Linked DNA regions of Homo sapiens: regions 1 and 3 are each linked to region 2. The links are contacts of gene promoters, found by promoter capture Hi-C in blood cells and fetal thymus (Javierre and others, 2016). All regions are on one chromosome and are shown on one strand. The core of a region is centred on a gene start or on the middle of the fragment in contact, and the rest is flanking DNA. Distances in the headings are between cores, read along the strand shown. Region 1 overlaps KALRN (kalirin RhoGEF kinase). Region 2 holds the start of ROPN1 (rhophilin associated tail protein 1). Region 3 overlaps KALRN (kalirin RhoGEF kinase).

Region 1 (3,912 bases), core at 589-3,088, 290 kb before region 2:
AATATCCACTATACAATGTAAATTATAAGATATATAAAGAGACAGAGAAAAATTACTGATAATCAAAACAATAAAATTGTCTATAGAAGATGATCCAGATATGAATTAGCAGACAAGGCTTTCAAAATAACTATGATTGACATCTTAAAAAAATGGGGGGAAGGGACAAAATGGATTAAAAAATGGAATGTTCCAATGGAGAATCATAATCTATAAAAAGAATTGTATGAACATTCTAGAATTGCAGAGTATAATACTGAACTTAAGAATTCACTGGATGAGTGTAATGGCAGAATAGATGCAGCAGCAAGCAGGATGAATGAACTTGAAAACAAATCAATAGAAAACAGCACACTGGGCAGGGTGCAGTGGTTCATGCCTGTAATCCCAGCACTTTGGGAGACCAAGGCAGACAGATCACAAGGTCAGGAGTTTCAGACCAGCCTGGCCAACACAGCAAAACCCTGTCTCTACTAAAAAGACAAAAATATAGCCAGGCGTGGTGGCAGGCGCCTGTAATTCCAGCTACTAGCTACTCGGGAGGCTGAGGTGGGAGAATTGCTTGAAACCAGAAGGCGGAGTTTGCAGCACAAAAAGGGAAAGGGGAAGAGGAAGGGGAAGGGGAAGAGGAAGGGAGAAAGAGAGAGAGAGCAAGAGAGAAAGAGAGGAAGAGAAGAAAAGAAAGAAAGAAAGAGAAAAAGAGAAAAGAGAAAGGAAGGAAGGAAGAAAGAGAAAGAAAGAAAGACGAAAGAAAGGAAAGAAAGAAAGGAAAGAAAGAAAGAAAGAAAGAAAGAAAGAAAGAAAGAAAGAAAGAAAGAAAGAAAGGAAGGAAAGAAAGAAAGAAAACAGCACACTGAAGCACAGAGAGAAAAGCAAATAGAAGCACAGGACACAGCAGAAGAGATGTGGGACATAACTAAAAGATCTAGTACAGTGCCGTCCAATACAACCTTCTGTGATGACTGACATGTTCTATGTCTGTCCTGTCCAGTTGGTTTGCCACTAGGTGCCTTTTGAATATTTGAAATGTGGCAAGTGAAACTGAGAAACTGAGTTTAAAATTTTATTTTTAAGCAGGGTGCAGTGGCTCACGCCTGTAATCCCAGCACTTTGGGAGGCCCAGGCAGGTGGATCATCTGAGGTCAGGAGTTCAAGACCAGCCTGGCCGACATGGCAAAACCCCATCTCTACTAAAAATACAAAAATTAGCCAGGCATGGTGGCGTGCACCTGTAATCCCAGCTACTTGGGAGGTTGAGGCAGGAGAATCACTTGAACCCGGGAGGCAGAGGTTGCAGTGAGCTGGGATCATGCCACTGCACTCCAGCCTGGGCAACAAGAGTGAAACTCTGTCTCAAAAACAAACAAACCAAAAATTTTATTTTTAATTAATTTTTTTATTTGTATAAATTTAAAGGATACAAATGCAATTTTGTTACACGGATAGATTGCATAGTGGTGAAGTCTTGGAGCTTTCAGTGTATCTATCACACCATAATAGTGTATACTATACCCACTAAATTTAATTAGCCAGATGTGGCTACTGACTGTCCTGTTGGGTAGTGTAGTTTTAACACAGGCATACTTAGAGTTCCAGAGGAAAGGAGAGAGAAAATGGGACATGATAGACTCTAAGGATAAGAAGGATATACTACTCCTTCTAGAGTAGTATATTGAACATTGATTCCCTAACATCCAGTTCACCCCAGATCATTTGTTCAAACCAGTCATACTAATTTCACTCCCCTTTTTATTTACATGTTCAGGATTGGGCAAGTCTTAATGAGTATGAACCAACGAAATTGAGGAGAGATTTGCTTAGAGCTTCTGGGAAACAGAAGTCAATGTCTGTGTTTCTCCCTCCTTCTCCTGCTACCCCTATCACTTGGGGAAGAGTGAAGCATGTTGCTCTGTTACAACTGGCAGCTGTCTTAGAACCATGAAGGGAAACAGCCTTGCAAGGAAGTTCTCGGCCAAACAGTGAGATCTCAGCAGAGGAGTGAGATAGAAAGAATCCTGAGTGCCTGAAGATGGGCTCGCACTGATTCATCAATCTTGAAGCTCACATCATTGTCTCTGAATGACTACTTAAAATGTGAAATAATACATTTCCTTGATATTTAAGCAAATTTTACTGTCTTCTGTTTCTTGAAGCCCAAAGCATTCTGATACCAAGAGTCACACCCTCATGATGTTTAGTGTGATTGTTCATTCACTTATTGAGCACTCGTATTCCAGACATTGGGTTAGACACGGGTGATAAAAGATCAAGGCCACGGTCTAGTGAGGGGGACAAACACATTCCATATTCTGTTAATGTTAATAAAATGTGAAAAATACTATAAGAGACGTATACTGTGGGCTGACAGTAGAGGAGCACTTGGTCCAACTTGGCAGAGATAGGGTTAGGGAAAAGCATGGATGGCTTCTGGGTGGCAACACCTGGACAGCACTTGAAAGACAACAGGATTTCATCAGGCAAAGAAGGTGTAGTTTGCAAGGGCATTTTAATCAGAGGAAATAGCTTAAGCAAAGGCCTGGAGGTTTAAAGCAGCAGCATAAAATGAGGGATTGTAAGAAGCCATAGTAGGAGATAGGGAGATACCAGATCACAAAGGGCAAAAGATGCATTGGGGAACCACTGGAGGGGAGTGATAGCTCAGATTTGCTTTTAACTACGAAGTGAGTGTCTAGACTGAGACCCTCCCAGATATACAGGCATTTATCTCATTGCAAAGGGGAGACCAAGCCAGCCTTGATCTCATAGAACAAAAACCAACTAGCACATTGCAGACTTCTCACCAACTGATGGTCTCTGCCTCCGCTTTCTCCTCCATTTTGTTCCCTCTCCCATCTTTTTCACACAAACTATTCAAATGTCTGGGTCAAAGAAGATAAAGATCATAATATGATAATATATGAAAAGTTCTGAGTATAGCATATGATACATAGCAGATCCAGAATGTATGCTAGTCTCTTTCCACTTCCTCTGGGTTCAGACAAGATAAACTGGCAGTCACAACAAGTAGTTGCTGTCTGATTAGAGAAACTAAGACTGCGAAACTTCATGCTAAAATCACACACTGTTCTTGACAGATGAGCTGCAGTTCAGCAGCTGTCTGGAGAAGCACACACTCAATGCTAAGCCTTAAAAGGCCACTCTCCTCGCACTTGCCCTCCTCAAGTTAAGTGATGTAATAAAAAATCTCACCAAGTCATTAATATAAATATTTTCAGACTTTAAATAAGGTGTTTTTGCATTTTATTTCCAGCCTATGAGCCTGGATGCACTTTATTCCCTGCAGCACTGGCAACACACTCATTACCCTCCTGTGGGGAAGGAATGGTCATCCAGGAGCCAGCAAGTCAAGCAGATGAGAAACAGAACTAACCAAGCCAGGAGTCAGCCCAGACAGCCCCGGGATATTGACTCTGAGTGGCCAAATTCCTTCCATTTGAACCACAAATGCTGATAAAATATTTTCAGGAACACAGTGAGGGAATGTACTTCACTCACTTCCCAAAATGTAGACTTGAAGAGGTCAAATCCTATTTAATCCAGGCTGAGAAAATAATGCCCAACTTTATCCCGGAGCTAAATTTAGACATAAACTGAGATCTGGCCCTTGGCAAGTTAATTTAGATGAGCTAATGGTTGTTCCTGGCATAAGGGATACACTCAATAAATGGTAACTATTATTGTTACTGCAAAAATGGAGTGTCTGTTGGATGTTCTCATCTAGTCCTCCCACACATCCTAAAATCGGCTGTGCCAATCACTTGCACATCTGGGAACAAAGCTCCACATGAGGCTAAGGATGAGGCAGCTCTTTCTTTGGGAGCCCCTCTCTGGGAGGAGGCAGGCTTCCCTGTGGGAGCCCTTCTCTTGGGGAGAAGACCACCACCTAGCTAT
Region 2 (3,484 bases), core at 503-3,002:
TCCCCCTCCCAACCTAAGGCACACCCTGTTTGTCAAGTGCCTATACCAACACCTGGCAGCCCCTCCACAGAGGCCTCAGAAAGGCAGGTGATAGCTAGTGACTAGGTTTCTTTCATCCCCAGATCTTGCCCTGTGGGCAGTGGCCATCCCCAGACCATCCAGGATTCTCCAGGTGTGCAAGGACCTACAGGATTTTGACAAATGCCAGCAGAGTGGCCTCTTTACAAATGGATGACAACAGGCTGTGAAAAGCTTTCTGCATGCGTAACCCAAAAATCTAGTTCCCCCACTTGTTCACTGATGCTTAAAATTGCTTTAGGGAGAGACAAAGGCTTTCATCTCACAAACAGAGAAAGCTTTGAAGGGCCTGGGTGAACTAATCTATTTAGACTAATACACACTGTTGTATAAATGGAATGAAGGATTAGATGATGCAATGGGCCCCTTTAAAATAGGTGTGAAGTGACACGGGATGTAGCAGAGAAAGATGGGGCTTTTCTTGCCTCCTTGGGTGCTTAAAACGAACAGTCTTGAGACCAGGTGCGGTAGCTCAAACCTGTAATCCCAATACTTTGGGAGACCAAGGCAGGTGGATCACTTGAGCCCAGGGATTCAAGACCAGCCTGGGCAACATGGCAAAACCCCGTTTATAAAAATATAAAAATTAGCCTGTCATCGTGGCAAGCACCTGCAGTCTCAGCTACTTGGGAGGCTGAGGTGGGAGGATTGCTTAGACCTAGGAGATTGAGGCTGCAGTGAGTCATGATTACCCCATTGCACTCCAGCCTGGGCAACAGAGCAAGACCCTGTCTCAAAACACACACACACACACACACACACACACACACACACACACACACACACACACAGTCTTGAAACCGGAAGACCTGGAGTAAAGTTGGGCCCTGAGCCCTACTGCCAGCTGTTCGATCACAGGCAAAATTACTCGAAGCCTTGAGCCTGTTTTTTATTTCCAAAGCGAAGGTAATACCTACCTTCAGAGTTTACTGTGAAACTTTGATGTCATCATGTTTGTAAAAGTGCCCTGGCACAGTGACCACATTCTACCCTATAAATATTTTCTATCTTTCCCTGTTGTCCCCAGGCATCTCAGGCTCTGTTCCTATCCACTCCATGCCCCTTTCTTAGCATTATAAGGTCAAGAGTGAGGAATCTGGGACCACGCAACCCAGATTCAGATCCTGACTCTGTCACTTGCTGACTGTCATCTTGGACAAGTTTAACCTCTCTGTGCTCAGTTCCCTCATCTGTAAAAATGGGGATAACAATAGTACTTGCCTCATGGGGTGACAGTAAGGATGAAATGAGTTCATGTGTGTAATGCACTTAGAACAATTCCTGGCACCAAAAACTCATTGTAAGAAGTGTTGTTACTATGATTCCTGAGGAATTCTCACCTGTCCACTTTCCACAAGCCGAAAGATCAAGCTCCACTTCTGCCCTCTCACCTACAAAAGCGCACCGTCAATGGCTACACATTCCGCCCCACCCCCAACGCCCCCAGCCCGGGTTTCCTAACGTCCCCAGCCCAGTCCTTAACCCTCCAGGCCGTCTGGTCCTTCCACCACCAGCAAAGCCCAAAACAGCTTTCAGCGTCCCCTAGCAGCGCCCTAGCGGGACCCTGGGAACCCGCCGCTGCAGGAGAGGCGGGGCGGCTCTGTGACGTCGCGCCCGGCGCTACCCCTGGTGACCTGGCAGCGGAGCCCGCGCAGGGTTTGCCAGGCGAAGGCGGAGCGCTAACGTCTAACGCTAACGGCGGTCGTGCCCCGCCGCTGCTGTCACCCCCGGCCGCTGCTGCCCTCCCCGCCGAGGTTCTACTGCTCTCCTTCTTAAGAAGGGTGGGAGGCACTCGGTCTCTCCCCACACCTCTCGCCTGAGGCCAGGCGCCAGGTGTCGCCTGAAGCCAGACAGCCGGTTTGGGAGCGAGCCTGAGGTAGCCACCCCGAGGGGAAGTGGAGGGAGGGCAGGGCTCTGAGCGCCCCGAGGGCTGCGCTGGTCTGAGGGAGGAGCCCTGCCGGACGCCCCCTGGATTCTGAGCCTCTCCTTGTTCACAGGGCAAGGGGAAGGCAAGGGGATCTTCAAGAGAATGTGACTGTGGGGGATTATGGCTTTCTGGCCAATTTGTGTGCGTATTTTGTACCCAGAATACTATTATACGGTTTCTTACCCGGAGGACAGTGGTTGGGAGGCTCAAGAGTTTGGAATCAGAGCCCTCCACCGAGGAGCCACACCTCTGCTTTTTCATCAGCGACAGGGATATAAAAATACCTCTGGGTGAATTGTCATGTGGATGTCATGGGCATACCTAGCACTTCATAGACTCCTATCACACATTATTTTATACCTAGCACTTCATAGACTCCTGTCAGGCATTATTTTATACCTGGCACTTCATAGACTCCTATCACATATTATTTTATACCTAGCACTTCATAGACTCCTATCACGCATTATTTTATACCTAGCACTTCATAGACTCCTATCACGTGTTCATTTTATAGCTAGCACTTCATAGACTGCTATCACGCATTCATTTTTACTAGTACCTATTGAACACTAAGTTCCAGGCACTGGGCTAGGCACTGGGATGGTGTGGTGAGCAAAAACTGACCAGTCCTGCCGTGGAGTTTGCTGGGGGAGACACATGTTACTCAAAGAATCACACTAAGGATAGGTAAGTGATGCTCTGGAAGGGTATGTACAATGGAACTGACAGGGTAATCAGGGAAGGTTAAGCAGACCTCCAAAGGAAGAATCAACCTGTTAAGAGGAGGAGAATGTATTCCAAACAAGAGTAACCACATCCCAAACCCACCATCTCCAATTCCAAACCCAAACAGGGATGTGCAGTTGCCTGTGCTTGGTTCCAAGTGATACTCATAGAAACCCTCTGAGATTCTGCCCTGGAGCCTTTCATTCATGTTACTGGAGACTTTCATTTATGAAACGGAAGCCCTGTTTAGCCCATACCAATAAAACCAAGTGAGAGATCCCTGAAACAAGGCTATAGTCTATTTTAAGACCTACATTCTTCAGCACTTGGCAGGTATATGTTGGCCTCCATTTTACATTGAGAGGCATGTAGGTTTCACTTAGGAGGAAATGCATTGAATTGAAAGAGTTGGGGTTATGGATAAGCTCTGGAATGTATAATTGAAGAAGACCTACACTATCAAGAGATTTAAAAATGGAAAATAACTTTACAAAATGTTAGAATTGAGGAATGTTAAGATAGAATGGACCTTTCTCCCACTTCTTTGATGTGAACAAATGACCCTTATTGCCCAAAGGCAGGAAAGCTGGGCTTTGGTGCCTCTTCAACTCAGAGAGTCTATGATTTCAACTCTGTGATTCAAAAGTGCATGGAACTCCTGAAAGTAAATGGGAACATGGGGGGATAATTTGACCTGACCCTCCTTTAGTGTTTTCTATTTCTACAAGGGTACCACCACTGTGCACCCAG
Region 3 (3,491 bases), core at 411-2,910, 280 kb before region 2:
AGTGGGTATGGCAGGAAGAGCCCTGGACTTAGAAACAGAAAAATGCTGGATTCAGATGTCAGCTCTGTCACTGTAGACCCAAGATCAAAGAACATCCGTTTCCCTGCATGTCAAGAGAGATGCCACCACTCAACCCATAAGGATCAAAGGATTATGCAGATTAAATAAGACTGTGTGAAAGTGGTTTGTCAATGGTAAAATACATTGCAGGGCCATAATCACTAATTAATATTATAGTGGCTGTTAACAGTACTGTTTTTGTTCCTTAGCTGGCTTGAGCCACTCATTGCAGGCACTCGGGGCAGCTTCTAACAGTAGGTAAAAGCAGGGACCCTGGAGCCAGACTGCACTTCCCAGCTTGGTGAATTCTTTAACCTTTCAGTTTCTTCATCTGTAAAATGTGATTATAATAGTACATCTACCTCTCAGGACTCTTGAAAGGATTAAAATGAGTAAATTTACACACAGTGCTTAGAACAATACTGGGCACATAATACACACTATATAAGGGTGAGCTTAAAAAAATTACATTAGCTAAAACTAGTAGGCACACTGTTTTAAAGCTTTCCAGGAAAGTACTATCATTAATCAGAAAGTTGGATGAGCAACCTCTGCTCCCTCACCCCCATCCCGGCTCAGGTTTGGCCTGTTCCCTTCCTACCTTCTCAGCATCCTGCTCGAAGAGCCGCAGCTGAAAGCACTGGTCCAGCTTGAGCTTGCGCACATGCCACATCTGGTGCAGGTGCTGCCGGGTGGAGTGCAGCTTGTCCAGGAGACTGGTGATCTTGGGCACCAGGCTCTGGAAGTCAGCACTGCCCGGGATGCAGTTGCGTCCTGAGAAGCCGTCGCTGCAGCGGATGCACTGCAGCAGCCGCTGCCCCTCCCGGTCCAGCTCCTCCACAGGGGCCTTCAGCACCTTTTTCTTGAGCTGTGTGTGTTCGTCAATGAGCCGCCGAGAGCCCTCCACATCCACAGGAAACTCCTTCCGGGCTAGCATCTCCTGGAGGTCCTCGAGGCGCGAGAGCAGGTGCACGGCGCTGTTGAAGAACTCCTCCAGGGAGAGCCGCAGTTCGATCCACTCCTCATGGTTGTAGTCCAGGGAGCCATCAAACTCCTCCGTCAGCTGGGAGGGGTCCACCAGCTTTGTGAGGCCCTCCACAGATACCATGCTCGTCTGGAAGGGGCAGACACAGACAAGGATACTCAGTGATGTCAGGGGAAGAACAGGGCAGAAATAGGATGAGGGAAAGGACAAGATAAATCCACATAATAATGACCACAGCCTGCCTCGGAAATGGTGAGTGGAGGCCATGGGACTCACTGGTCAGGAGTCACAGATCAGTCAGGATCAGCAGTTTCTACAGACTGCTGACTGCTTTAGCAAGCCTCTACAACTGCCAGCCATTTACCACCCCAGAAGAACTGCTTTTGTGTCCCTCCTCTCCTCATTTTCCCTCCTCCTGACCCCAGTTCACTTCAAAAGGGCTTCAGAGGCTAGAAGCAGAAGCTGGAAGAAAAACTGACCTAGTTTCTGGGGGACAGTTTTCCACAGCTTTAAAACCAAGGCCCGTGGACCCAGGGTATCATCATAGTTGGATTAAGCAACATGGGCCAGTGCTTGGGCTGCAAAGATTTCACAGTCTTATCTTTTCCAAGGCTCTCCCTTTTAGCTCTTCTGTGGTATGGTGAACAGAACTAGGGATGGGCAACAGGGGAGTCTGCGCCCTTGGTTTTCTCTGTGAGGCCCCTACAAGCTCCTGGAGAGCGGACTGGAGAATGTTTGTCTCCAGGAAGGAAAGTGTCTCCAGCAAATGATGATGCAGGCAACCACCTTAGTTTATTAGTAAACATCTTTTCCTTCCTATAGGGCTTTAGGCTTCTCTTCTTTCTCATGAAGAATGAGAGGCTAGCAAATTAATATCTGTGTTTGGGTCCCAGCCCTATGCTTATTAACTGTGTGACCCAGGGCAAGCTATTAAGGTCTCAGAGCCTCAGTCTCCTCCTCTGTGTAATGGAGATAATTATTCCTTCCTCATGGGGCTTGCAGAGATTAAATGTATCAATGTGTGTAAAGCACATAGGGTGCATAGCATGGAGTACATGCTCAATCCCTGTTAGTGCTCACTCTGATGATCTGAAGGCTGCATCATTACTCAAAACCTGAAAAGCAATTTATCTCTCTGTGTCTTGCCACTCTCTGAGCATCCCCTCTTTGTTCCTTCTCTTTCCACCCCTCTCCTAAGAGGAAGGAAGGAGGTGCCATAGGCAGGAGGACTGGTCTGGAACAATGGTTGTCAAACTTGACTGCTCATTAGAATCCTTTGGGGAGTGTGCAAAAATACCAATGCTCAAACCTCATCCCTAGAAATTCTGATTTAATTGGCTAAATGGGAGCTTGGACATCAGTAGGTTTAAGAGTCCCTCAGATGATTCTAATGTGCAAGTAGAGTTGCAAACTCCTGCTAATCTCCATCCTTGCTACTCAAAGCATAGCTCTCAGACCAGCAGTATTGGCATCACATGGGAGCTTGTTAGAAATGCAGAATCTTAGGCCTTACCCCAGACCTATTGAGGCAGAATCTGCATTTTCAAAATCCCCAGGAGATTTGTGTGCATTAAACTTGAGAAACCCTATTCCAAAGTACTTTCTCCTTCAAATTTGGCTCAAAGTTTACCACTTCCGGGAAGTCCTCCATCATTATACTTACCAATTATTATATATCTGTTGTATAAGTATCTGTTGTTGAACAAGCTTATACTCTCATCTCTGTATCACTTGTCACCCCAGTCTGCACTAAGTATTAAATTCACTGTTTTTAAGATACTGCCTTATAAATATTCCTTTGATTGGGAGGCCCCCAGCTATCTCTCCTATCCTCTTATTTAGGAGGCAGAGACAAGCTTGTTCAACTTAGAGTGAAAGAGGTACAGAGAGATGGGACATGCAGGCCAGCAATGCTGAAGCAGAAGTATCAAGACTTACTGAAAAGATGCTTTTCAGTCTCTTCAGCTTATACATCTATAGGCTTGTTGTCACCACCTCTGTATAAACAAGCCAAAATATAGAAAGCATTTCCCTGCAGGACTTCTAGTGTTCTGGAGGGGTGCCAGGAGACTATAATAGGTCACTGTTTTTATACCAAGCCAAATTTCTTGTATTGTTTACACAGAGTGAGAATCGCCTGCATCAAGTGTCAGGTCATTGTGCTCAAATCACAGCCTATTTGACACCACACACAGGCGCTCCTGGCCCCCAGGGCACAAAAGTCTGGAATGGGAAGCTGCTGAAAGATTAAAAGCAGCTCTGTGTTTTCAACACACACACATTTAAAAGTTCATCCCCTTGCAGATGAGGACTAGAATTCTGAGGAAGGGAACAGTTTATATTTGGCTGGAATACAGACGCTTAAATCATTGATTTAATCTGATGTATTGTCATTGAAAATTCTCAGGGGAAACATATACCCTCCAGAAAATTTAGTTTAAAAACA

The links. Contacts are between HindIII fragments. The CHiCAGO score rates a contact against its expected background, and 5 or more counts as called.
Region 1: a fragment that was not itself captured here is called in contact with the fragment with the promoter of ROPN1 in region 2 in 2 of 17 cell types (endothelial precursors and M1 macrophages); the score reaches 7.0 in endothelial precursors.
Region 3: a fragment that was not itself captured here is called in contact with the fragment with the promoter of ROPN1 in region 2 in 1 of 17 cell types (endothelial precursors); the score reaches 5.0 in endothelial precursors.

The regions. Positions count from the first base shown.
Region 1 is chr3:124,282,996-124,286,907 of GRCh38, reverse strand. All of the region lies in intron 5 of KALRN (kalirin RhoGEF kinase), which reads right to left. Among named protein-coding and RNA genes, the nearest start is that of MIR6083, 89 kb to the left of the region's middle. The HindIII fragment of the contact is 4,470 bases long and covers 1-3,912 here.
Region 2 is chr3:123,990,392-123,993,875 of GRCh38, reverse strand. ROPN1 (rhophilin associated tail protein 1) reads left to right here and starts at 1,752. Exons shown (of 6, transcript NM_001317774.2): 1 at 1,752-1,954. RefSeq lists an enhancer at 1,464-1,980. The HindIII fragment of the contact is 3,137 bases long and covers 359-3,484 here.
Region 3 is chr3:124,266,426-124,269,916 of GRCh38, reverse strand. KALRN (kalirin RhoGEF kinase) reads right to left here. Exons shown (of 60, transcript NM_001388419.1): 5 at 662-1,174. Among named protein-coding and RNA genes, the nearest start is that of MIR6083, 110 kb to the left of the region's middle. RefSeq lists enhancers at 1-643, 2,955-3,478. The HindIII fragment of the contact is 2,189 bases long and covers 566-2,754 here.